7 separate regions of the Homo sapiens genome follow, and all the other regions are linked to region 1. The links are contacts of gene promoters, found by promoter capture Hi-C in blood cells and fetal thymus (Javierre and others, 2016). All regions are on one chromosome and are shown on one strand. The core of a region is centred on a gene start or on the middle of the fragment in contact, and the rest is flanking DNA. Distances in the headings are between cores, read along the strand shown. Region 1 holds the start of RDH16 (retinol dehydrogenase 16). Region 2 overlaps PRIM1 (DNA primase subunit 1). Region 3 has its middle 2.4 kb from the start of PRIM1. Region 4 overlaps HSD17B6 (hydroxysteroid 17-beta dehydrogenase 6). Region 5 has its middle 28 kb from the start of HSD17B6. Region 6 has its middle 45 kb from the start of HSD17B6. Region 7 has its middle 61 kb from the start of HSD17B6.

Region 1 (3,563 bases), core at 311-2,810:
GTGGCAGTTGTTGATCTGGAAGGGTTGGCCCAGGCATATGAACCTGTCCCCTGCTCAATAACAGGCCCTGCCCTGATGCAAATGCAGATTCCTCCACCCAGACATCTCATTTTTAAGAATCCAATCAATACTCACACTTACAGAGACGTTGGCAAATAAAAGTCCACCAAGATGACATTTATGATGAATAAAAAGCAGGAAGGAATTTCATATCCAACCACTCAGTATGGATTACATAGGTAAGGCTATTGGAAGGATACAGTATTCTAAATAATTAAATATAATTTTATAAAAACAGTCATTATGGTGGAAAAGTGTTCATCTTCTCCAGAGAATTTAAGGTGACTGAAACTAAGAACAAAATATAAAATCCTAATTTTGTATAATTGTAAAAAGGACTTATGTGTGGATGACAATTTCAGGGAAACTTGTTTTCATCTTTATTCTTTTCAGTGTTTTCCACAAAGATCATATTCTGATTTATTGTTACATAAAATAAATCCATGTTTCTTTCTTCCTCTATAATAAGACAGATGAATTAGTGTAGTGAAAAGAAGAAAGAAAGAAAAAGTAACCCCTTACTAGTTCTGCCTTCCTTAAGCAGTCCTTAAGCTGATACTCTCCTCTGAAGATGGAGATGATCGTAGCTCTCAGTGGACGCTGATGGGCCCTAGCAAAAACAAGGTAAAGTGCTGGGAACATAAGCCTGGCTCCAGCACAGGCACAGCCTCCGTGCACACTTGCAGCCCTGTGCTCCCTTCTCAACGATGCTCCAGCAAGTCTCCAGATCTCTAACCCAGGCTCTTAGCATCAAACAACACATGACTTCTGCTTAGACAGGAGGGAGAGGATAGAGAGGAATTCTGGAGAGAAAATCTCATCAGGGCAAACTCTCCCCAAGACTAGACACCTCCAATGTCGGGAGAGGTTAAGGATTGAAAAGAGATGGGGTTCAGGCAGCCTGTTAAGTGAGAAATATTAGAAAGCTACTGTTACTTCAACCTGGAAAGACACTGTAGGAATCTTCCCAGGGAGCAGACAGGAGGTGGTCCCTTCACACAGAGGGAAGACACAGACAGACTTGACAAACCTGGGTGGTTACCTTTGTCTCTCACGCACTCCTTCACCCACTGGGCGGCTGCAGCAACGCTCTCTGTCTTGGTAACATCCAGGGTCACCGTCTCCAGCCTGTCTGAAGTCTGGCCCCTCAGCTGCTCGGCTCCTTTCTCCGTCAGACATGCAGCCAGCACCCGCAAGCCTCGTGCATCCAGCTGTCTGGCCAGCAGTTTCCCGAAGCCAGAGTCACAGCCCGTGATGAACACATACTTATCTCTCAGGTGGCTCAGCACCTGCCTCTCCCGGTACCAGTGCAGAAGGTAGTACAGGCCCACGAAAACCGCCAGGTAGAGCCACATGGCTTTGCAGAGGACAGACACAGACAGGCTGTGGGGGAAACCAGAGTCTGGCCTCTGTTCAGACAGGAGGATTTAAGAACACAGAGGGCTGTGGTAGGCAGGGAAGCCCTCAGGCATTTTGGCAGGGAATCCTCACTTTCCTCCCTGATGACTGCCTTTCTGCAACATATTTATTCTGGCCCCACCTCTCTGCTCTTTGAACTGCTTTTGCAGTACTCATGCACACCTTTGCACACCTCAAGTCCTGCCCAGTAGGAAGATACTATCTTCCTACTGGGCAATGTGCCCCTAGTCTCCTGATTTCTCTCTGCCTTGCTATGCCCACTACATGCATGCTGTGTCCATGAAGGAGCACACACATATATTCACACAGGAACATACACAGAACTCACACAGGCTTACACACAGCTGCCCACACACACTCTCCATGGCAAACACACCCCTCTGCTCTAAGTACAGGGGTCAAAACTGTCTCTACAAAGCTCCGATACCAACACTCCTGGTCCATGACCTTCTGAACATAGAAAGGCCTTATTGGGTAGCTACCCATGGTTTCCAGGCACATTAGGTGGAAATCCCTCTCTGAGCCTGAGTTTCCTCATCCTGCTCCGCACCCCAGAATCAATCACTCCTCTGAAAACTAGGGCACGGTCAGGCTGTCTAGGATGAGAAGGAGAAGGCAAAGAGTGAGCAGGAACAGGTTCCCTCCTGCTATAATAGTTTTTTGGGGCAGAAGGATTGCAGGATCCCACAGGGAGAATCCAACCTCAGAGGTAAAGAAAGCAGGGAGAGGATGGGCAAATAGGAACAGCTCCGGTCTGCAGCTCCCAGTGTGACTGATGCAGAAAATGGGTGATTTCTGCATTTCCAGCTGAGGTACCTGGTTCATCTCACTGGGACTGGTTGGACAGTGCGTGCAGCCCACAGAGGGTGAGCCGAAGCAAGGCAGGGCATTGCCTTACCCAGGAAGTGTAAGAGGTCAGGGGATTTCCCTTTCCTAGACAAGGGAAGCCGTGACAGACTGTACCTGGAAAAACAAGACACTCCTGCTCAAATACTGCACTTTTCCAATGGTCTTAGCAAATGGCACACCAGGAGATTATATCCTGTGCCTGGTTTGGTGGGTCCCATTCCCACAGAGCTTTGCTCACTGCTAGTGCAGTAGTCTGAGATCAACCTGCAAGGCAGCAGCCTGGCAGGAGGAGGGTTGCTCACCATTGCTGAGGCTTGAGTAGGAAAGCAAAGCAGCTGGGCAGCTCAAACTGGGCGAAGCCCACTGCAGCAAGGCAAGGCTTTCTGCCTCTATAGACTCCACCTCTGGGAGCAGTGCATAACTGAACAAAAGGCAGCAGAAACCTCTGCAGACTTAAACATCCCTGTCTGACAGCACTGAAGAGAGCAGTGGTTCTCCCAGCATGGTGTTTGAGCTCTTAGAACAGACAGACTGCCTTCTCAAATGGGTCCCTGAACCCTGTGTAGACTAACTGGGAGACACCTCCCAGTAGGGGCCGACTGACATCTCATACAGGTGGGTGCCCCTCTGGGACGAAGTTTCCAGAGGAAGGATCAGGCAACAATATTTGCTGTTCTGCAATATTTGCTGTTCTGCAGCCTCTGCTGGTGATACCCAGGCAAACAGGGACTGGAGTGGACCTCCAGCAAACTCCAACAGACCTGCAGCTGAGGAAACTGTTTGAAGGAAAACTAACAAACAGAAAGAAATAGCTCAAAATCAACAAAAAGGACATCCACACCAAAACCCCATCTGTAGGTCGCCAACATCAAACACCAAAGGTAGATAAAACCACAAAGATGGGGAGATACCAGAGCAGAAAATCTGAAAATTCAAAAAACCAGAGTGCCTCTTCTCCTCCAAAGGATCACAGCTCCTTGCCAGCAACAGAAAAAAGCTGGATGAAGAATGACTTTGATGAGTTGACAGAAGTAGGCTTCAGAAGGTCAGAGTAACAAAATTCTCTGAGCTAAAGGAGGATGTTGGAACCCATCACAAGGAAGCTAACAGTCTTGAAAAAAAGATTAGATGAATGGCTAACTAGAATAAACAGTGTAGATAAGTCCTTAAATGACCTGATGGAGCCGAAAACCATGGCATGAGAACTACAGGATGCATGCATAAGCTTCAATAGC
Region 2 (3,563 bases), core at 731-3,230, 220 kb before region 1:
AATCTCAGAGTCCATCAGATAAAATCTCTTTCTTAGCATTTTGTACTTTTTTTTTTGTATTAAGTTAGTACTTCTTTTTTTTTTTTGAGATGGAGTCTTGCTCTGTTGCCCAGGCTGGAGTGCGATGGTGTGATCTCAGCTCACTGCAACCTCTGCCTCCCCGGTTCAAGCGATTCTCATGTCTCGGCCTCCTGAGTAGCTGGGATTACAGGTGCCTGCCACCACGCCCAGCTAATTTTTTGTATTTTTAGTAGAAACAGGGTTTCACCATGTTGGCCAGGCTGGTCTCGAACTCCTGACCTCAAGTGATCCAACTGCCTTGGTCTCCCAAAGTGCTGGGATTACAGGCGTGAGCCACCGTGCCTGGCCAAGTTAGTACTTCTTAAGGGCAAGGAGGCATGATGTTAATTCATCTTTGTCTCCCTTATAGACCTGATACTTAGAATGTGTTTAATAACTATGTGTTAAATTGAATTAAGGAACCTCAATTTCCAAAACATTAAGGATAGTAAGATAAATCTGTAAATTTTGGGAGGAGGGCAAAGAAAGACTAGAACTCAAAAATTGCTCATTTCTACTAATAATAAGATCTAACTAGATAGAAGGGAAAGGCATAGCGTCTTACCACTCTTCTTAAGAAGTTCTCCTTTTCGGGATTTATCCAGATTTTCAAGAAAATGTTCAAAAACTTTCACATAAGGTGCTAGACTGGTCTTCTTATAATCTAAATTATGAAGAATGTACATTATAATTAGCATACTGGCAGCAAGAATAACATGAAAACACAACTAAGTTTCTTATAAGAATTCTCTAGGGCTGCCCAATTGAAATATGAGAGAAACATACATACTTTTAAATACTATATTAGTCACATTAAAAAAGGTGAAATTATTACTGAGACAGGATTTCACTCTGTCATGCAGACTGAAGTACAGTGGTTCCGTCTTGGCTCACTGCAGCCTCGATCTACTGGGCTCAAGGGATCTTCCCATCTCTGCTTCCTGAGTAGCTATAACTACAGGCATGTACCACCATGCCCAACCAATTTTTTTTTTTTTTTTGGTATTTGTAGAGACGAGGTCTCACTCTGTTGCTCAGGCTAGTCTTGAACTCCTGAGCTCGAGTGATCTCCCAGCCTCGGCCTCTGAAAGTGCTGGGATTACAGACACATGCCACCATGCCCAGCTAAAATATTATTTTTGCATGTAATAAAAATTGAGATATATGATACTCTCTTTCATACAAGTCTTTTATATTTATATATATATATATAATATATATACATATATTTTCTTTTTTTTTTTTTTTGAGACAGAGTGTCACTCTGTTGCCCAGGCTGGAGTGCAATGGTGCGATCTCGGCTTACTGCAACTTCCGCCTCCCAGGTTCAAGCAATTCTCCTACCTCAGCCTCCCGACTAGCTGGGATTATAGGTGCCCGCCACCACAATGAGCTAATTTTTTGTATTTTTAGTAGAGATAGGGTTTCACCATGTTGGCCAGGCTGGTCTCAAACTCCTGACCTCATGATTCACCCACTTTGGCCTCCCAAAGTGCTGGGATTACAGGCGTGAGCCACCGCGCCCGGTCCATGCCTTTATTTTTGAGTCTTGCTCTGTTGCCAGGCTGGTATGCAGTGGTGCAATCTTGGCTCGGGAACCTCCGCCTCCCGAGTTCAAGCGATTCTCCTGCCTCAGCCTCCTGAGTAGCTGGGACTATAGGTGTGTGCCACCATGCCCGGCTAAGTTTTTGTATTTTTAGTAGAGACGGGGTTTCACCATGCTGTCCAAGATGGTTTTGATCTCTTGACCTCGTGATCCACCTGCCTCAGTCTCCCAAAGTGCTGGGATTACAGGCGTGAGCCACCGTGCCCGGCCCCATGTCTTATTTTTGAGACACTGTCTTGCTTTTTTGCCCAGGCTAGAATGCAGTGGTGCAATTGCAGCTCACTGCAGCTTTGACTTCCCTGGCTTAAATGATCCTCCCACCTCAGCCTCCCAAGTAGCTGGGATCACAGGGAGTGCCACCACAGCTGGCTAATTTTTTATTTTTAGTAGAGACAAGGTCTTGTGTTGCTCAGGCTCTGGTCACGCCCTTTTGGAGATTATTAGAAGTTTTTACATTGAGTATTCTTGTTTTTTTTTTTTTGAGATGGAGTCTTGCTCTGTCTCCCAGGCTGGAGTGCAGTGGGGCAATCTCGGCTTATTGCAACCTCCACCTCCTGGGTTCAAGCGATTCTTCTGCCTCAGCCTCCCGAGTAGCTAGGATTATAGGCGCCCGCCACGACGCCCAGATAATTTTTGTATTTTTAGTAAAGATGGGGTTTCGCCATGTTGGCCAGGCTGGTCTTGAACTCCTGACCTCAGGTGATCCACCCGCCTCAGGCTCCCAAAGTGCTGGGCCTACAGGCATCAGCCACTACGCCTGGCCTGCATTAAGTATTCTTTGATTTATAAAATAGTTTAAAAAATGTATACAACAAAAAATTTAATATAGGCAGGGTGCGGTGGCTCATGCCTATAATCCCAGCACTTTGGGAGGCCGAGGCAGGTGGATTACGTGAGGTCGTGAGTTCGAGACCAGCCTGACCAACATGGAGAAACCCTGTCTCTAGTAAAAATACAAAAATTAGCTGGACGTCGTGGCGGGCACCTGTAACTCCAGCTACTCAGGAGGCTGAGGCAGGAGAATTGCTTGAACCCAGGAGGCGGAGGTTGCAATGAGCTGAGATTGCACCATTGCACACCAGCCTGGGTGACAGAGTAAGACTCTTTCTCTAAAAAAAAAAAAAAAAAAAAAAAAAAAAAGAATATACAATTTTATTCATCCATTTAATTATATAACCTATAATGATACCCAATGGGAAAATATGATTGAGAATAAGAAAGGAGTTTCACATAAAATTTGGATTTTAGTAGTATCCTACGTTTGCATGGAATTAAGAATCCTCATAATAGTTCTTTAAAAAGAGTAAGAAAGAAATTATACTTTTTTTTTTTTTGAGACGAAGTCTCACTCTGTTTCCCAGGCTGGAGTGCAGTGGCGCAACTTCAGCTCCCTGCAACCTCTGCCTCCCGGGCTCAAGTGATTCTTGTGCCTCAGCCTCCTGAATAGCTGGGACTACAGGTGTGCACCACCATGCCTGGCTAATTTTTGTATTTTTAGTAGAGACGGGGTTTAACCGTGTTGGCCAGGCTGGTCCCAAACTCCTGACCTCAGGTGATCCACCCACCTTGACCTCCCAGAGTGCTGGGATTACAGGCGTGAGCTACTGCGCCCGGCCACATAATTTTCATTTTGAGACAAGGTCTCTCTCTGACACCCAGGCTGGAGTACAGTGGTGTGGTCAAGGCTTACTGCAGCCTTAACCTCCTGGGCTCAAACAGCCTCTTGAGTAGCTGAGACCACAGGTGCCTGCCAGCATGTCTAGCTAAATTTTTTTTTTTGGAGAGACAGGGTCTCTCTGTGTTGCCCAGGGTGGTCTCAAACTCCTAGGCTCCTCTTGCCTCGGCCTCCCAAAGTGCTGGGATTACAGGTGTGAGGTGAGCAGTAAGCGAGCATTAC
Region 3 (3,563 bases), core at 501-3,000, 200 kb before region 1:
AGCCTCCCAAAGTGCTGGGATTACAGGTGTGAGCCACCACGCCTGGCCGACACCAGTATCTTTTAAAAACGTTTGTAGGCAGGTGCGGTGGCTCATGCTTGTAACGTCAGCACTTTGGGAGGCCAAGGCAGGAGGATCGCTTGAGGCCAGGAGTTCGAGACCGGTTGGGGCAACATTGTGAGATCTCTGTCTACACACACGCACCCACACACAACTAGCCAGATGTAGTTGCGTGCGCCTGTAGTCCCAGCTACCCTAGAGGCTGAAGGGTTGGGGGCGGGGAGTGGGGGGAGGGGGCAATCAATCTCTCGAGCTTGGGAGGTCCAGGCTGTTGTGAGCCATGATAGTGCCACTGCACTCCAGTCTGGGCAACAGAGAAAGACCGTGTCTAAAAAAAAAAAAGTTTTGGAAATTAGTTCTTCATGGAATTTCATGAATTACTAGATCCAATATGTGGAAATAAATAACCAAATGAGAAAAGCATAGGCTATTTATTCAGAGCTTACTATAGCAAGGGAGTCAGCCATCATCACTTGCATTTGACAGGACTCAAAGGCAGGCAGAGGAGTAGGAAAGCTTTATAAAAAAGGGAAGCCGTCAAGGTATTCTTTGATTGGAGGCTGTTGGCATGGAGAAGCTGTACCTGGGCTAACTAGTAGTAGGATGCGGTATGTGATTGGTTTAGGGGTGGGTGTTTGGCTTTCTTTGGTTGGACCTATGTTGGAAGCTGTTAAGGAAGCTGTAGGATACTAGTTAAGGCATTTGGGCCCATTGCTACAGGGGTTGTTGTTTGGCCTCCAGGATCATCATTAGAGATAGCAGTTTGACTTTATACAAGTCTGACTTGTAGCAAGCTTGCTTCCTGTGCTGTTTATTATAGATAAGGGGGTTGGTTTCCCCAGCAGGTTGCTGTAGATTGTGGGTCAGAGTTCTGTTTTTATATATGGTCTGGCTGCTGTTCATATATTTAGTCTCTCAAATAGAACACCCAGGTATAAGAAAATATGAATTATAGGAAGCTTGCAGAATCATGGAGAGCTTTACAAGTATGAAGGGAACCCATCTGCTATTGATGTGGAGATCTGCCAATCACTCTTACTGTGTAATGATACCTTATGGCAATTGTGGGCTAGAGTGGGCAGTCACATGAATAACATGTCACATGAAAAACATAGTTTTATTTTATTTTACTTATTTTTTTGAGACAGAGTCTCGCTGTGTCGCCCAGGTTGGAATGCAGTGGCACAATCATGGCTCACTGCAACCTTGGTCACCCAGGCTCAAGCAATTCTCATGCCTCAGCCTCCCAAATAGCTAGGATTACAGGTGTGCACTGCCACACCCAGCTAACTTTTGTATTTTTAGTAGAGACAGGGTTTCACTATGTTGGCCAGGCTGGTCTCAAACTCCTGGCCTCAAGTGATCCACCTGCTTTGGCCTCCTAAAGTGCTGGGATTACTTGTGTGAGCCACTACCTCTAGCCTTGTCTAGCACTTTTATCTTATGGAGATGGCTTCTCTCCTTAAACCTCATGAACCAACTTCTGCTGGCTTCAAACTTCTGCAGCTTTCTCACCTGTCTCAGCTTTCATATAATTAAAGAGAGTAACCTTGCTATGGGTGAGGCTTTGGCTTAAGGGAAGTTATGGCTGGTTTGATCTTCTATTCAGCACACTAAAAGTTTCTCCATATCAGCAATAAGGCTGTTTCACCTTCCTATCATTTGTGTGTTCCCTGAAGTAGCACTTGTAATTTTCTTCAGGAACTTTTCCGGGAAGGAACTTTTCCAGGCCAGGCCTGATAGCTTACACCTGTAATCCCAGCTCTTTGGGAGGCCAAGGTGGGCAGATCGCTTGAGTCAGGGAGTTCAAGACCAGTTTGGGCAACATGGCAAAACCCTGTCTCTACCAAACCAAACCAAACAAACAAAAAAGCCCAGAAAAATTAACAGGGTGTGGTGGCATGCATCTGTGGCCTCAGCTGCTCAGGAGGCTGAGGTGGGAGGATCACTTGAGTCAGACAGGCAGAGGTTGCAGTGAGCCAGTATCGTGCCATTACACTCCAGCCTGGGTGACAGAGTAACACTCTGTCTCAAATTTAAGGCCGAGTGCAGTGGCTCACGCCTGTAATGCCAGCACTTTGGGAGGCCAAGGTGGGAGGATTGCCTGAGTCCAGGAGTTTGAGACCAGCCTGGGCAACATAGCGAGACCTCATCTCTACAAAAACTACAAAAATTAGCCAGGTGTGGTGGCGCAGGCCTGTGGTGCCAGCTACTTGGGAGGCTGGGGTGGGAGGATCACCTGAGCCCAGGAGGCGGAGGGTGCAGTGAGCCAAGATTAGGGCACTGCACTCCAACCTGGGCAACAGACTGAGACCTGTCTCAAAAAAACAGAACTTTTCCTTCGTATTTACAACTTGGCTAATTGCTTGGTGCAAGGGGCCTAGGTTTTGGTCTGTCTCAGCTTTCAACATTCCTTTCTCACTAAGCTTAATCATTTCTACGTTTTGATTTAAAGTGAGAGATGTGGGGCTCTTTTTGTCACTTGAATACTTAGAGGTCATTGTAGGGTTGTTAATTGGCTTAGTTTCAATATTGTTGTGTCTTAGGGAATAGGGAGGCCTGAGGAGAGGGAGAGAGAGAGGAGAACAGCATATTGGCAGAACAGTCAGAACACACACAACATTTATTGATTAAGTTTGTCTTCTTATATAGGCACAGTTCGTTGCACCCCCAAACAATTACAATAGTACCTCAAAGATCACTGATCACGGATCACCGTAACAGATACAATAATAATGAAAAAGTTTGAAATATTGCAAGGATTACCAAAATGTGACATAGAGACATGAAGCAAACACATGCTGTTGGAAAAATTGCACTAATAGACTCACTGTATGTAGGGTTGCCACAAAGCTTCAATGTGTAAAAAATGCAATATCTTTGGAGCATAATAAAGTGAAGCACAATAAAATGAGGTATTCCTGTATATAGCTTTTGCCATGATGTCAGGTACCATTTTATGAATTTATCCCTCATGAGAACTCTATGCGGTAGTTGCCAACATCATCCCTATTTTCTTTTTCTTTTCTTTTCTTTTTTTTGAGACGGAGTCTTTTTCAGTCGCCCAGGCTGGAGTGCAGTGACGCGATCTTGGCTTACTGCAAGCTCCGTCTCCTGGGTTCACGCTATTCTCCTGCCTCAGTCTCCTGAGTGGCTGGGACTACAGGTGTCCGCCACCACGCCCGGCTAATTTTTTTTGTATTTTTTTAGTAGAGATGGGGTTTCACCATGTTAGCCAGGATGGTCTCGATCTCCTGACCTTGTGATCCACCCGCCTCAGCCTCCCAAAGTGCTGGGATTACAGGCGTGAGCCACCACGCCTAGCCTCTTTTTTTTTTTTTTTTTTTTTTTAACGCTTTTCCTGTTTGGAAGGAAAAAGTGCAGCTCGCTGCCAGCAGTCATTTAATTTTACATAAGCATGCTCTTTGAGGCTGAAACAAATCTGACTGATTTCCAATGTGAAAATAAAATATAAAAACTGTTCTTGGAGTTCTTTCTCTCTC
Region 4 (3,563 bases), core at 440-2,939, 190 kb before region 1:
CAAAGTGCTGGGATTACAGGCGTGAGCCACCGTGCCTGGCCTAGCTTTTCAAGATCTTTGTGGGAGAGTAGCTTCAAGCAATGATGAAGCCCAAGATGGGGATCAGACCTGAAATAAACAGTGGAAGTTCTTAACCTATGCATGTGTGATTATGAAGGTGTTTTCTAGGCTCGACCTCAAAACTCATTAAATAAAATTAACCAGATAGCATAGTGTAGATGAGAAAGGAAGAGACTGACAATATGATGTAAGAAAGCTGAATTCTTATTTACCATAGCAGGAAGTTAATTGAGAATGTCAAAAATTGGTAAATCAAGAAATAGCAGCTTAAGTACTGTGTATAAATAATTTGAGTCAAAGGCAAAAACGTAAAGTAATTGCACAGCTTTTGCAGATGAATGGTTTGTAAAAGCAAGCAGGCCACGCCACTTCGGGTATTTGGACATTTGAAATATTCGAGGCACATTCAGGTTTGGCCTAGGGTTTGGGATTCCGCCAGGTGTATCTCTTCTGCAGGTCTTCTTGCTGCTAGGCATGCGATGGCTGAATAGTAATGCCCGGGGAAACTGTGAGGGCCAAGCTTCTCTCTAATGGGGGAAATACGTTTTCATCTTTGACTGGCAACAGAAAATTACCTTTTAGTCAATAAACAGTCAGGTTGAAGCTCTCTGTGTTACTGTAGTGCACCAGGGAATGCCACTTAGGCAGAACAGAGGCAGCTGGCTAGAGAACACAGAGCTCTCAGATTGGAGAGAGGCAAAGGGCTTCAGAGAAGGAAGGAGAGAGACAGAGGGAAGAGGGGAAAAGGAGAGAAAGAGAAGATGGTGGGGGAGGGAGGAGCAATATATGCCTCTCTCCACTGTTTTCTCCCTTTCACTGTCTCCTTCCACTTTACTTGCCTACACCCTAAGTTGCCCTCTCGCTACTTACTGCCTTCTCTCCTCTCCTTCCCAGACCAGGCTTTTGAAAAAGAGTCTCCACTCGGCTCCACTTCCTGCCCTCCAATTCATGCAGCAGCCCACTGAAGATTGGCTTCTGTGCCCTTCACTGTCTGAGTCTTCCCGTTAAGAGCACCAGTGCCCTCCTATTACCCAGCAGACCTCCTGGTTGCATTGCTGATCCTCATTAAGCCCCCCTTTCCTTGGCTTTCATCAGCTTGCTTTTTCCTACTTCTCTGGCTCATTCTCCCTGCTTTTTTTCTCTCAATTTTTTATCAGGATATTTTTACTTAGTATAACTTAATTTATCTAACATTTATTAAGTATCTGCTATGTGCCATTCACTGGGCCAGGTGCAGACTAATATGTAACCTGGGCTCTCAAGGGCCTTATAGTCTAAAAATGGGGAAGAGCAGTGCAATGAAGTACAGCAGGCATCATGATAAACCCAGGCCACAATGGGGACACTAAGGAGGGTATAGTCAATTCTGTTAGACCATGGGGCAGGTTAAATCAGGGCAGGAAAGTCTCTTGCCTGGACCATTTTTTGTCCCCTCTGTCTAGTACTGTATGTAATCTCTCAGTGCTCACCTATGAAACAGTGTGGCAGCCATTGAGGTGCATTGCTCAGATCACTCAAGAAAATCTGCTATGAGGAGTGAGGTTGACTTCCAGCCTCCAGTTGTGGCACCCTCCGATCTGCTGTGGTATTTACACTGAGGCACGCTCCTCTTGGGCACTGGTCAGCCAATGACCAGAAGGATGGCAGTACTGGAGCTGGACCAGTTCAGCCCAGTGTGGAACTTCTCCAGTGGCAGTCTTTGCTCAGGCTCATGGGCCTGGCTGAGACTTTCTTGGGGCTCTACTACAGTCTAAAGCTCTTCCTATCTTCTCCTCCTTCTGTTCCCCTCTCCTTCCCGAGGTGTCAGATCTGCATTACCACCTATTCCTGTGCCTTCCCCCTTTGTCCTCTGAGGGTGTTTCCCCCATAATCTCTTGCATGTCTAATTTTGTCTTGGTATCTGAACTGACACAGAGGAATAATGATGGGACCTGTCTTGTAGGGTTCTTGTGAGAATTCAAAAAGTTAATATATGTGACATCTTAGAACAGAGCCTGATACACAGCAAGTGCTCGGCAAGGGTTGCAATTTTTTTTTTTTTTTTTTTTTTTTGAGATGGGCAGAATCTCGCTCTGTCACCCAGGCTGGAATGCAATGGCATGATCTCGGCTCACTGCAACCTCCACCTCCCGGGTTCAAGCGATTCTCCTGCCTCAGCCTCCCAAGTAGCTGGGATTACAGGCGCCCACAATCATGCCTGGCTAATTTTTGTATTTTTGTAGAGATGCGGTTTCGCCATGTTGACCAGGCTGATCTCAAACTCCTGACCTCAGGTGATCTGCCTGCCTTGGCCTCCCAACATGCTGAGATTACAGGCATGTGCCAGTGTGCCTGGCCTAGCTATTATTTTTTAATTATCCTTTTGATATGGTTTGGCTTTGTGTCGCTACCCAAATCATATCTTGAATTGTAATTCCTAGGTGTTTAGGGAGGAACCTGGTGGGAGGTGATTGGATCATGGGGGTGGTTTCCCCCATGTTGAGTTCTCATGAGAGCTGATGGTTTTATAAGCGTTTGGTAGTTCCTCTCTTGCTTGCTTTTGCTTTCCTGCCATCATGTGTTTGCTTCCCCTTCTACCATGATTGTAATTTTCCTGAGACCTCCCCAGCCATGTGGAACTGTGAATCAATTAAACCTCTTTTCTTTATAAATTACCCAGTCTCGGGTGGTATCTTTATAGCTGTGTGAAAACGGACTAGTACACCTGTAGATCTCAACTTATATTTTATTCTCTCTAGGAAGCTTCTCAGACCTCTCTAAACTGCCTTAGAAGCCTCTCCTGAGTGTTCCAGCAGCCTCCTGTTTTTACTTCTGTTATAATGCATTGTTGTCAGTCTTCATAATGAGACTGTGAATTCAATGAAAAATGGACTATGTATTGTTCACTCTTGTGTATCAGTGCCTAACACTGTGTCTGACTCAAGTAGTTGTTGAATTAATGTTTGCTGAATGAAAGTGATGATTAGGCTGAGACTTAAAAGATGAGTGTTATGGCTGGGTGTGGTGGCTCATGCCTGTAATCCCAGCATTTTGGGAGGCCAAGGTGGGTGGATCACCTGAGGTCAGGAGTTCACGACTAGCCTGGCCAACATGGTAAAAAACTCTCTCCCTACTAAAAATACAAAATTAGCCCGGCTTGGTGGCACGTGCCTGTAATCCCAGCTACTCGGGAGGCTGAGGCAAGGAGAATCACTTGAACCCAGGAGGCGGAGGTTGCAGTGAGCTGAGATTGCGCCATTGCACTCCAGCCTGGGCAAAAAGAGTGAAACTCTGTCTCAAAAAAAAAAAAAAAAGAAAAAAAAAAGAGTGTTATTTGCCAAGTAGATGAGGGCTACTTCTTTCCAGTAGAAAGAAGTGTATGCAGAGGCGTAAAAAGCCTGTGCTTTGCAGGGGACTGAAAGTTGTTTGTTTTGGCTAAAGAGTAGGATGCAAGAGAGAAGCCTAAGTAGCCAGAGTGCTGGGGACATTCATGTCAAACTAAGGAGTTTGAATTGCATAGACTA
Region 5 (3,563 bases), core at 710-3,209, 170 kb before region 1:
ACTTCCCAGTAGGGGCGGCCGGGCAGAGGCACCCCTCACCTCCCGGACGGGGCGGCTGGCCGGGCGGAGGCGCCCCCCCCACCTCCCTCCCGGACGGGGCGGCAGGCCGGGCGGGGGCTGACCCCCCACCTCCCTCCTGGATGGGGTGGCTGCCGGGCGGAGATGCTCCTCACTTCCCAGACGGGGTGGCTGCTGGGCGGAGGGGCTCCTCACTTCTCAGACGGGGCGGCTGCCGGGCGGAGGGGCTCCTCACTTCTCAGACGGGGCGGCCGGGCAGAGACGCTCCTCACCTCCCAGACAGGGTCGCCGCCGGGCAGAGGTGCTCCTCACATCCCAGACGGGGTGGCGGGGCAGAGGTGCTCCCCACATCTCGGACGATGGGCGGCAGGGCAGAGACGCTCCTCACTTCCTAGATGGGATGGCGGCCGGGAAGAGGCGCACCTCACTTTCCAGACTGGGCAGCCAGGCAGAGGGGCTCCTCACATCCCAGACGATGGGCGGCCAGGCAGAGACGCTCCTCACTTCCCAGACGGGGTGGCGGCCAGGCAGAGGCTGCAATCTCGGCACTTTGGGAGGCCAAGGCAGGCGGCTGGGAGGTGGAGGTTGCAGCGAGCCGAGATCACGCCACTGCACTCCAGCCTGGGCATCATTGAGCACTGAGTGAACGAGACTCCGTCTGCAATCCCGGCACCTTGGGAGGCCGAGGCTGGCGGATCACTCGCGGTTAGGACCTGGAGACCAGCCCGGCCAACACAGCGAAACCCCATCTCCACCAAAAAAATATGAAAAGCAATCAGGCGTGGCGGCGCCCGCCTGCAATCGCAGGCACTTGGCAGGCTGAGGCAGGAGAATCAGGCAGGGAGGTTGCAGTGAGCCAAGATGGCAGCAGTACAGTCCAGCTTCAGCTTGGCATCAGAGGGAGACCATGGAAAGAGAGGGAGAGGGAGACTGTGGGAAGGGAGAGGGAGAGGGAGAGGGAGAGGGAGAGGTCTCACTGCTTTCTCCTCCTGTTTCTGTGTGGGCTGGCTGTTCTCTGGTTCTGCTACTCAATTATTTTTCTAGGACTTCCCTACATCTCTTTCCTGCTGTCTGAAATCCTGCTTCCTGGAGCATATGGCCTCTTGGTTTTCTCCTTTATTTTAACAGAACTCATTCTTACTAGCTAAGTCTTTGCATGTTTAAAAAGGTCTCTGTTGGCCGGGCGCGGTGGCTCACAGCTGTAATCCCAGCACTTTGGGAGGCTGAGGAGGGCGGATCACGAGGTCAGGAGATCGAGACCATCCTGGCTAACACAGTGAAACCCCCGTCTCTACTAAAAATACAAAAAGTTAGCCGGGTGTGGTGGCAGGCGCCTGTAGTCCCAGCTGCTTGGGAGGCTGAGGCAGGAGAATGGCGTGAACCCGGGAGGTGGAGATTGCAGTGAGCCAAGATCGCGCCGCGGCACTCCAGCCTGGGCGACAGAGTGAGACTCTGTCTCAAAAAAAAAAAAAAAAAGATCTCTGTTGGCCAGGCGTGCTCTGTTGGCCAGTCATGGTGGCTCACGCCTGTAATCCCAGCACTTTGGGAGGCCAAGCTGGGTGGATCACCTGCAGTTAGGAGTTCGAGACCAGCCTGACCAACATGGTGAAACCTCATCTTACTAAAAATACAAAAATTAGCTGGGTGTAGTGGTGGGCACCTGAAATCCAGCTACTCTGGAGGCTGAGGCAGGAGAATCGCTTGAGCCCGGGAGGTGGAGGTTGCAGTGAGCCGAGATCGCACCACTGCACTCCAGGCTGAGTGAGAGGGTGAGACTCCGTCTCAAAAAAAAAAAAAAAAGAGAAAAGGTCTCTGTTCTTATAATAGATTAGCTGAGCATGGACTTCTAGGGTTGAAAATAATTTTCTTTCAGGATTTTAAAGACATTGCTTCACTTTCTTATCGTATCCATTAAGAACCTTAATGCCATTCTGATTCTTGTTCCTTTGTTCCTTTTTGTCCCTATTCTATGGAAGGTTTTAGGCTCTATTTAGAAGATAAGTACATAAATGTTTATTTTATTTGGAATCTTTATCTTTTATTGCAGGTGTTCCAAAACTTCACAATGATGGACATAGGGGTAGCTCTTCTATTCAGTTATTGTACTGGGTACTTAGTACAAGTCATGATGTAGGAGAGAGATTGGAGAATTGCTAAAATGATGGCAAGGAGGTTGAGAGAGGATTCAGTTTGGTGCATAAGTGGGAGAACGGGCTTCAAATAGCATGACTTAAGTAAGAGTTTGTTTTCTTAGGCCAGGCACGGTGGCTCACGCCTGTAATCTACCACTTTGGGATGCTGAGGTGGGGGTGGATTACCTGTGGTCAGGAGTTTGAGACCAGCTTGGCCAACATGGCAAACCCTGTCTCTACTAAAAATACGAAAATTGGCCAGGTGCGGTGGCTCACTCCTGTAATCCCAGCACTTTGGGAGGCCGAGGTGGGCGGATCACTAGGTCAGGAGTTCGAGAACAGTATGGCCAACAAGGTGAAACCCCGTCTCCACTAAAACTACAAAAATTAACCAGGCATGGTGGCAGGTGCCTGTAATCTAGCTGCTTGGGAGGCTGAGGCAGGAGAATCACTTGAACCTGGGAGGCAGAGGTTGCAGTGAGCTGAGATCGTGCCACAGCACTCCAGCCTGGGTGACAGAGTGAGACTTCGTCTCAACAACAACAACAACAAAACAAAAAAATTAGCCAGGGGTGGTGGTACACACCTGTAATCCCAGCTAATCAGGAGGCTGATGCATGAGAATCGCTTGAACCTGGGAGATGGAGTTTGCAGTGAGCTGAGATCACAACACTGCACTCCAGCCTGGGTGACAGAGCAAGACCCTGTCTCAAAAAAAAAAAAAGAAAAAAGTTTGTTAGGTAATAGTAAATTAGCGGATAGGAGGTCACTGGCATTGCTTCAGTAACTCATCTCTGTCAGGATTAAACTCTATGTGCATCTTCTGGCCTTTTCTTCCAGCTTGTCACTTCAAGGTTGTAAGATGGTTGCTGCGGATCCAGACATCACTTTCAAGTGACACCATATAAGTCAACCTAAATAACAAAGGGAGGCTCTCTGAAAGAAAAAGACATTTATTTGGGAATAGAGTATTGCAATGAGAATATACCCGTCATAGTAAACTACGTGCATATTCAGGGAGGTAAAGGAAGACAAAGGTTTTTAAAGAAAAGAGGGAAATTGCACAATTGTTTTAAAATAATTATATTTGGCTACAAAGATCAATAACAAGGATGATGTCAGTCCAGGTTGGACAGGCAGTTCTGGGGCAGATGTTCTTGCAGTGTTTTTTATGGAAATTTCTGGTGGCTTCTGTGCAAGGATATGATTTTTCCAGAGTCTTTTTTGTGAGGCATACAAGCATAAAGAACCTTCTCTTCATGGCCTTCTATGGCTTGATTTGTCAGGGCTCTTCTTTCTTTAAACATTAGTGACTCCATTTTGATTCTGGCAACTTTCACACAAAAGAGAATGATGGTATAAGGGAGAATGGTGGTGATGTCTGCATCTATCATCTTCTATGAGGAGAACAAA
Region 6 (3,563 bases), core at 271-2,770, 150 kb before region 1:
TTTTCTGGACTTCCTCCCAGTTCCCACTGCAAAAGACCAACGTGGCTCCTACCAGGAAGCCCTCCAAAGTACCATCTGGTCCCACAGCCCGTTTCTGCTGCCCCCTCCTGACATCAGGGGCCACCTGTGTGATAAAGTCAGTGCCTAGGACCAGCTATTCTGCTACTGAATCAGGAGATAGAGAGGTGTGTTTTACCAAGGCCCCTCCCTCTTAGCCTTTCCAGGAAGCCAGTGGGATTCTCATCAAATCCCTATTCTACCATGAATAGGTTGGTGTAATTCAGGGCCTTAGTCCTTGTCCTTCATAAGCCCTCCGGTATACACACCTGAAAGTGTTTCCTCTTCTATTCTCCTATTTCATCATTGGGGTCCAATTTTCAACCTCCAATGGTACTGCTATTTTTCCAATCAGATAAGTCTCATACCCTTTCCTGGTCCTATATAAGATATAAAGCTCATTGGCCAGGCACAGTGACTCACGCCTGTAATCCCAGCACTTTGGGAAGCTGAGGCAGGTGGATCATGAGGTCAGGAGATCGAGACCATCCTGGCTAACATGGTGAAACCCTGTCTCTACTAAAAATACAAAAAATTAGCCGGGCATGGTGGTGGGCACCTGTAGTCCCAGATACTCAGGAGGCTGAGGCAGGAGAATGGTGTGAACCTGGGAGGTGGAGCTTGCAGTGAGCTGAGATTGCACCACTGCACTCCAGCCTGGGTGACAGAGTGAGACTCCGTCTTTAAAAAAAAAAAAAAAAAAAAAAAAAAAAAAAATATATATATATATATATATATATATATATATATATATGGCTCATTCCCCAAATTCTCTGCCACTTGCAGGGTGGCCTGCTTTTCAGCGGTGGTCAGGGTTTGATTCAAAAGTAACATGAGGCTTGGTGCAGTGGCTCACACTTGTAATCCCAGCACTTTTGGAGGCCAAGGCAGGCAGATCATCTGAGGTCAGGAGGTTGAGACCAGCCTGGCCAACATGGTGAAACCTGTCTCTACTAAAAATACAAAAATTAGCCGGTTATGGTGGTGGACACCTGTAATACCAGCTACTCAGGAGGCTGAGGCATTGCCTGAATCTGGGAGGCAGAGGTTGCAGTGAGCTGAGATCACGCTATTGCACTCCAGCCTGGGTGACAGAGTGAGACTCTGTCTCAAAAAAAAACAAGTAACATGACATCCTTCCAGGAGAGCTCAAATACTTTGGTTAAGTTCTGGAAAGCCCCTATATACCTGTTAGAGCTGTCTAAAAACTTGCCAAGATCCCCCTTAATTTGCCTTAAGTCCTGTAGAGAAAAGGGAACCTGGACCTTAATGGGGCCATATTCACCAGGCATCTGTTGTAGGGGCAGTTGTGACTGGGACCTGCCTAAAATGAGGATTTCTAGGCTGGGCCAAGCTTGAGAGAAAACAGTGGAGGGGGTTGATTCCCCCACTGGAGGTACCTCTGGGGTTTGCTTCCCTATTTCCCTGGGATTGCCCTTTGCAGGCTCTCCTGAGATGGCCATGAGGTGAGCTGATTCAATCCTACCACATCAGCAAAGGTTTGGATTACCCTGCAAGGCAAAAAAGGCCTGCATGTATGGGACCTTGGACCATTTGCCCTTGCATTTACAGAAAAGCTTCCTTCCTGGGGCCATGCTTCTTTTCTGTGCCTCAAGGTTCTTGGCACTAAATTGGCAACCAAGGAAATGACAAGAACATTTTCACCACAAATTTATGTACAGATACCAAGGCCCACTTTGCTTCATCTGTGCTACTCTTAACCTTCCATTTTATACTTTTGAAGACTAAGCCAAATGCTTATTCTACCCAGTAATATTTCTGGTTTGCAACAACATCCTTAACATTCGACGTTGTATATAAAGTAGAGATAGGAACTTTGACAGCCGTGAAAGAAAGAAAGAGTGGGAAAGAAAGAAAGATAGGAAAGATGGGAGGTTCTAGTGGCAACACCCTAATGGGCAGTCGGGGACTGGAGTTAGTCCAGGGGCCTTTGGATAACGAGGCGAAGCCTCAGCCAGATACTCTGAGTTGCCCCACAACCTCCTTTGTCTTCCACCCAGTGGCTAGACCTCCATGAAAGGAAACCGGGTTGGAATAAAGCCAACATTCCCAAAACCTGAGGGTGATGGGGGATTGACAGTGTCCTCCCCAGCGAGCCTGTCCTCTGTGTCTTAAGTCCAGCAGCCACACTAGTTGCTTTTAACTGGCTGACAGAGGCTGGCATTTTTCTTTCATTTTAGCTATTGTGGAATTTAGGGACTCCAAAAAAGGACAGAAAGAGCAGATCTGCTTTTACTTACCCTTCCACAGATCCTGGATGAGCCCCCAAAATATTACAGGATCTTTGGGGTGTTGTTTTTCTCACTGGAAACCTCTGTGGCTGGCGGTGCCTTTGCCTGAGTTTTGCTTGGGCCTGCTGGGCTCATTTTGTCCACTTGGCCCAGCAGGCTGTTTTCAGCTTACGTTACTGGCCTGGTTCCCATGCCTGCTAAGGGTGAGTCAGGTGCGGAATGGCGTAGGGTGTATGAGCAAGCATGGGGTCTGACCAGTGTGCACAGTCAGACATGCCAGCTGCTTCAGTGGGCCAGGCAGCTTCAGGTGCTGGCATGGGCACTGGCTCTCTGCTAGGCTAAGGCTGGACCAGGTGCACCGCAAGCAGCTTCCATGGCTGGCGCCAGGGAATATGGTGGTGGCTGGAAGCTTGGAGATGCCAGGAACTGCAGGGCCCCAAAGAAGGAATCACGGGCCAGTCTTGGGGAGCTCCCAGGTCTGGGATCCCCAAAGGGCTGCAGCTCTTCTTTCCTTCTCTTTGCCTGCAACATGGAGAGCAAGGGGGAAGCATGTCTCAGCCCTGTTTGTGTTACAGCTCTTTTAGCCTCACCATTCAGTGGGTCCCAAGTTCTTGTACTGAGACCAGGAAGAATGAGGTACGTAGATAAGTGGAGGGTGAACAAGACAAAGAGGAGCTTTATTGAGCAATATAACATCTCAGAGGAAACCCACAGGGGGCAGCTCCTTTCTGCAGCCAGGTTGTCCTGATGGGTGTTCAGATCCTAGCAGAGAGGGTAGCGCCTCTCTGCAGGTGGTTGTCTCGTCGTCTATACAGCTCTCAGGAGAGAGGATACCCTAGAGTGGGTGGCTCCCCTCTGCAGGCAGGTCATCCTGTCATCTCCCTGTCATCTCTCCATCAACTCTGCAGCTCTCAGCAGAGAAGAGGCCCTAGAGTGGGTTGCTCCTCTCTGCAGCTGGTTGTCCCGACATCTGCTCAGCTCTGGCTGAGCCCAGGGCTTTAATGGGCCTCAGAGGGGAGGAAATGAGCACCAGTTGGTCCATGGGCAGCCACGGGCAGGCATACAAAAGACACCACAAGTTCCCACTATGGTCCATGGGACTGGCATGCTTGGCCCCCAGTCTTCAGGGTCTCCCTGGCCTCAAGGTGGGGCCTCACCAGGGACCCACCCCCTTCCTCCCAGGAACCTGTGTGCCTCCTGCTGCCATTCATGGCACCCAGGCTGTAGGTGCCAAGGTGCACCTGCAGGCCAGTG
Region 7 (3,563 bases), core at 640-3,139, 130 kb before region 1:
CTGAGATGAGAGAAAAACCGCCCTATGGTGGGAGGCAAGACATGTTTGCAGCAATGCTGCCTTGTTTTTCTTTACTCCGCTGAGATGTTTGGGTGGAGAGAAACAAATCTGGCCTACGTGCACATCCAGGCATAGTACCTTCCCTTGAACTTAATTATGACATAGATTCTTTTGCTCACATGTTTTTTGCTGACCTTCTCCTTATTATCACCCTGCTCTCCTACTACATTCCTTTTTGCTGAAATAATGAAAATAATAATCAATAAAAGCTGAGGGAACTCAGAGACCGGTGCCGGTGCAGGTCCTTGGTATGCTGAGCGCCGTTCCCCTGGGCCCACTGTTGTTTCTCTATACTTTGTCTCTGTGTCTTATTTCTTTTCTCAGTCTCTCGTCCCACCCAACTAGAAATACCCACAGTTGTGGAGGGGAAAGTCACCCCTTCACTTTTCTTTTCTTTTCTTTCTTTTTCCTTCCTTCCTTTTTCTTTCTTTTCTTTCTTTTTTTTTTTTTTTGACGGAGTCTTGTTCTGTCACCCAGGCTGGAGTGCAATGGCGCTATCTCGGCTCACTGCAACCTCCACCTCCCAGGTTCAAGCAATCCTCTTGCCTCAGCCTCCCGAGTATCTGGGATTACAGGCGTGTGCCACCACGCCCAGCTAGTTTTTGTATTATTAGTAGAGATGGGGTTTCACCATGTTGGCCAGGCTGGTCTCGAACTCCTGATCTCAGGTGATCCACCTGCCTCAGCCTCCCAAAGTGCTGGGATTACAGGCCTGAGCCACCGTGCCCGGCCCAGAACAATTTTCATATAATCTATTGACTTGCCTGCCCTAAGACAAAGGCCGTTGTTTTGAGGTAGCCTTAGTTTACTTTCCAAGTTCCATCTGCTTTTCCACTGGAGTTCAGAGGTCTTTCATGGCCAGCCCATTCTGCCATCCATGACCTTTGATGGAGCCTGTTCTCAGCTCAAGGCAATCTCCAGAAACTGAAGAACATGACCTTTCTAAATGCAAGTAAGAATTCGTCAAAGAAACTTGTGCTGGTTAAAGCTTAAGATAACCGGATAGCCAATAAATTCAGAGATAGAGGCATGACTACTTGGGACAGGCTTTTAAGAAAACTGTGATTATATTTCTTTGGCAAAATTAAAACTTGATGGAAACTCAGGGAACATTTTGTCTAACCTAGATAATAAAAGCAAAGTCATATCTTTTCCTTGTTTAAATGACATGGGGGGGGGCTGGGTTGGATGAGAGTGAACTGGGAGGACACAGAGATCTGTATTTGGAACATGAGAAAATGTGCTAGGCAATCTGAAACAATATTGATCATTACTCTTTTAGCTACATCTTATAAGTTGATTACTTTTTACAGAAATAGAATTTTGTCTAGACTATTGGATAAGCTCTAGGAAAAAAAGTTGATTTCCCACATGAATGCTTGGGATCATCAATTTTCATTTATGCTTTTGATCAAATACTATTTGGCTAATACATTCATAGGGTCCTCTAGTTTTCCCAACCTTTTTATCTATCCCGACTAAGAAATACAGAGTGCCTTGACCACTCTGTGACCTGGCCAGTTGCATGTTTTTTTGCAGGGTTAAGTCAGGTCCTTGAACATTCCCAGGCTCTGGTAAACATGTTTAGGTTGTTGTCCAGAACACTGAAAGAAACTAGCCCCAGCCCTTAACCAAACTCCTCAAACCCTCATATAAACTCCATAACACAACCCCCTTATTGCAGACATAGCTAGGTGGAACATCTCTTTCGCTTGCTGTTGAGAGGATTCCTGCAGCCCCTTTTGTAAGTAAGTTCCCCTGATAAATACTTTAGACTAATTACCCTGGTGTTTAGTGCTTCTCTCTTTGGAATCTCAACCAGCCCCATCTCCAAATGGTTTACAGATAATCCTTCTTGGGAATTTCCCTGCTACAGACTTTGGGGCTCCAGTTTTGGTTTCGGCCTGGACAAAACAACACTGCAGGAATAGTTTAAGGTATTTGCCTTTTGTGATAGTGTCCATTATAATATTATTTTCTTATTACTATTAATTTTTTTTTTTTTAGAGGCAGAGTCATCCAGGCTTCAGTGCAGCAGTGGCGATCACAGCTCACTGCAGCCTCAAACTCCTGGGCTTAAGTGATCTGCTCACCTCAGCCTCCTGAGCAGATGGGACTACAGGTGTACTACCACATCTGACTAATTTAAAATTTTTTTTATAGAGATGGTGTCTCCCTCTGTTGCCCAGGCTGGTCTCAAACTTCAGGGCTCTAGGGATCCTCCTGCCTTGGCCTCTCAAAGTGTTGGGAGTACAGGTGTGAGCCACTGCACTTGGCCTATTATTACTATTATAATTATTTTTCAACCACCTGGTAAATTTGCGAGGGTTGTTTTGTTAAGTAAATAAATCAAAATCTTCCCTGGAAATTTAAGGGAGAAATGTCGAGGAAGAAGTTCATGTCATTTGAGGATAATTGGCTGCACAGTTACTCTTTTGCAGAGGAAGGCATGTGTTTGTGATGGACATAGCAGCTGTCAATATGCCCCCACTATCAGAGGGTATACCAAACCTGCAAACTCTTTGTTTCGGCAGCAAAATATATTAACAAAAATTCAGGAGTGGACAGAAGTTTCTAATTTTGATGTAGTCCAATGTGTCCATTTTTTTTCCTCTTGTTGCCTGTGCTTTCAGTGTCATATCCAAGAAATCACTGCCAAATCCAACGTCATGAAGCTTTCTCCCTGTTTTTTTGTTTTTTGAGACAGGGTCTTGCTCTGTTGCCCAGGTTGGAGTGCAGTGGCATGATCAGAGCTCACTGCAACCTCTGCCTCCTGGGCTCAAACAATCCTCCCTCCTCAGCCTCCCTAGTAGCTGGAACTACAGGTGCATGCCACCATGCCTGGCTAATTTTTGTATTTTTTGTAGAGATGGGGTCTTGCCATGTTGCCCAGGCAGGTCTCCAATTCCTGGGCTCAAGTGATCCACCTGCTGTGGCCTCCCAAAGTGTTGGGACTACATGTGTGAGCCACCACACTCGGCCATCTCCCTGTATTTTCTTCTAGGAGTTTTATAGTTTTAGTTCTTAAATTTAGGTCTTTGATCTATTTTGAGTTAATTTTTGCATATAGTGTAAGGTACAGGTCTAACTTCATTCTTTTGCAGGTGAATATTCAGTTTTCCCGTTACCATTTGTTGAAAAGATTGTCCTTTCCCCATTGAATGGTCTTGGCACCCTCGTTAAAAATCATTTGACCATATATGCAAGGGTTTATTTCTGTGTTATCTATTCTATTCCGTTGGTCTAGGTATCTGTCTTTATGTCAGTAACACACTGGTTTGATTATCATAGCTTTGTAGTAAGTTTTGAAATCAGGAAGTGAGAGATTGCCATCTTTGTTGTTCTTTTCAACATTGTTTTGGTTATTTGGGGTCATTTGATATTCCAAATGAATTTTAGAATGGATTTTTAAAATTTATGTAAAAATATTGTTGGGATTTTGATAGGGATTGCATTGACTCCGTAGATCACTTTTGGTGGTATTAATATCTTTACAATCTTAA

What was found. Contacts are between HindIII fragments. The CHiCAGO score rates a contact against its expected background, and 5 or more counts as called.
Region 2: a fragment that was not itself captured here is called in contact with the fragment with the promoter of RDH16 in region 1 in 2 of 17 cell types (erythroblasts and endothelial precursors); the score reaches 5.5 in erythroblasts.
Region 3: a fragment that was not itself captured here is called in contact with the fragment with the promoter of RDH16 in region 1 in 3 of 17 cell types (M1 macrophages, M0 macrophages and M2 macrophages); the score reaches 7.4 in M1 macrophages.
Region 4: a contact is called between a fragment that was not itself captured here and the fragment with the promoter of RDH16 in region 1, in 15 of 17 cell types (erythroblasts, M1 macrophages, activated CD4 T cells and 12 more). The highest score is 16.0, in erythroblasts.
Region 5: a contact is called between a fragment that was not itself captured here and the fragment with the promoter of RDH16 in region 1, in 1 of 17 cell types (erythroblasts). The highest score is 5.1, in erythroblasts.
Region 6: a contact is called between a fragment that was not itself captured here and the fragment with the promoter of RDH16 in region 1, in 14 of 17 cell types (erythroblasts, total CD8 T cells, naive CD4 T cells and 11 more). The highest score is 13.1, in erythroblasts.
Region 7: a contact is called between a fragment that was not itself captured here and the fragment with the promoter of RDH16 in region 1, in 9 of 17 cell types (erythroblasts, M0 macrophages, endothelial precursors and 6 more). The highest score is 12.4, in erythroblasts.

The regions. Positions count from the first base shown.
Region 1 is chr12:56,956,048-56,959,610 of GRCh38, forward strand. It overlaps RDH16 (retinol dehydrogenase 16), which reads right to left and starts at 1,561. Exons shown (of 4, transcript NM_003708.5): 1 at 1,103-1,561. The coding sequence starts at 1,415. The HindIII fragment of the contact is 6,494 bases long and covers 1-3,551 here.
Region 2 is chr12:56,733,522-56,737,084 of GRCh38, forward strand. PRIM1 (DNA primase subunit 1) reads right to left here. Exons shown (of 13, transcript NM_000946.3): 12 at 626-724. Among named protein-coding and RNA genes, the nearest start is that of NACA, 10 kb to the left of the region's middle. The HindIII fragment of the contact is 5,821 bases long and covers 1-3,563 here.
Region 3 is chr12:56,752,945-56,756,507 of GRCh38, forward strand. No RefSeq gene overlaps it. Among named protein-coding and RNA genes, the nearest start is that of PRIM1, 2.4 kb to the left of the region's middle. The HindIII fragment of the contact is 1,467 bases long and covers 1,018-2,484 here.
Region 4 is chr12:56,769,361-56,772,923 of GRCh38, forward strand. All of the region lies in intron 1 of HSD17B6 (hydroxysteroid 17-beta dehydrogenase 6), which reads left to right. Among named protein-coding and RNA genes, the nearest start is that of HSD17B6, 7.8 kb to the left of the region's middle. The HindIII fragment of the contact is 2,222 bases long and covers 579-2,800 here.
Region 5 is chr12:56,789,615-56,793,177 of GRCh38, forward strand. No RefSeq gene overlaps it. Among named protein-coding and RNA genes, the nearest start is that of HSD17B6, 28 kb to the left of the region's middle. The HindIII fragment of the contact is 7,319 bases long and covers 1-3,563 here.
Region 6 is chr12:56,806,701-56,810,263 of GRCh38, forward strand. No RefSeq gene overlaps it. Among named protein-coding and RNA genes, the nearest start is that of HSD17B6, 45 kb to the left of the region's middle. The HindIII fragment of the contact is 223 bases long and covers 1,410-1,632 here.
Region 7 is chr12:56,822,693-56,826,255 of GRCh38, forward strand. No RefSeq gene overlaps it. Among named protein-coding and RNA genes, the nearest start is that of HSD17B6, 61 kb to the left of the region's middle. The HindIII fragment of the contact is 1,687 bases long and covers 1,047-2,733 here.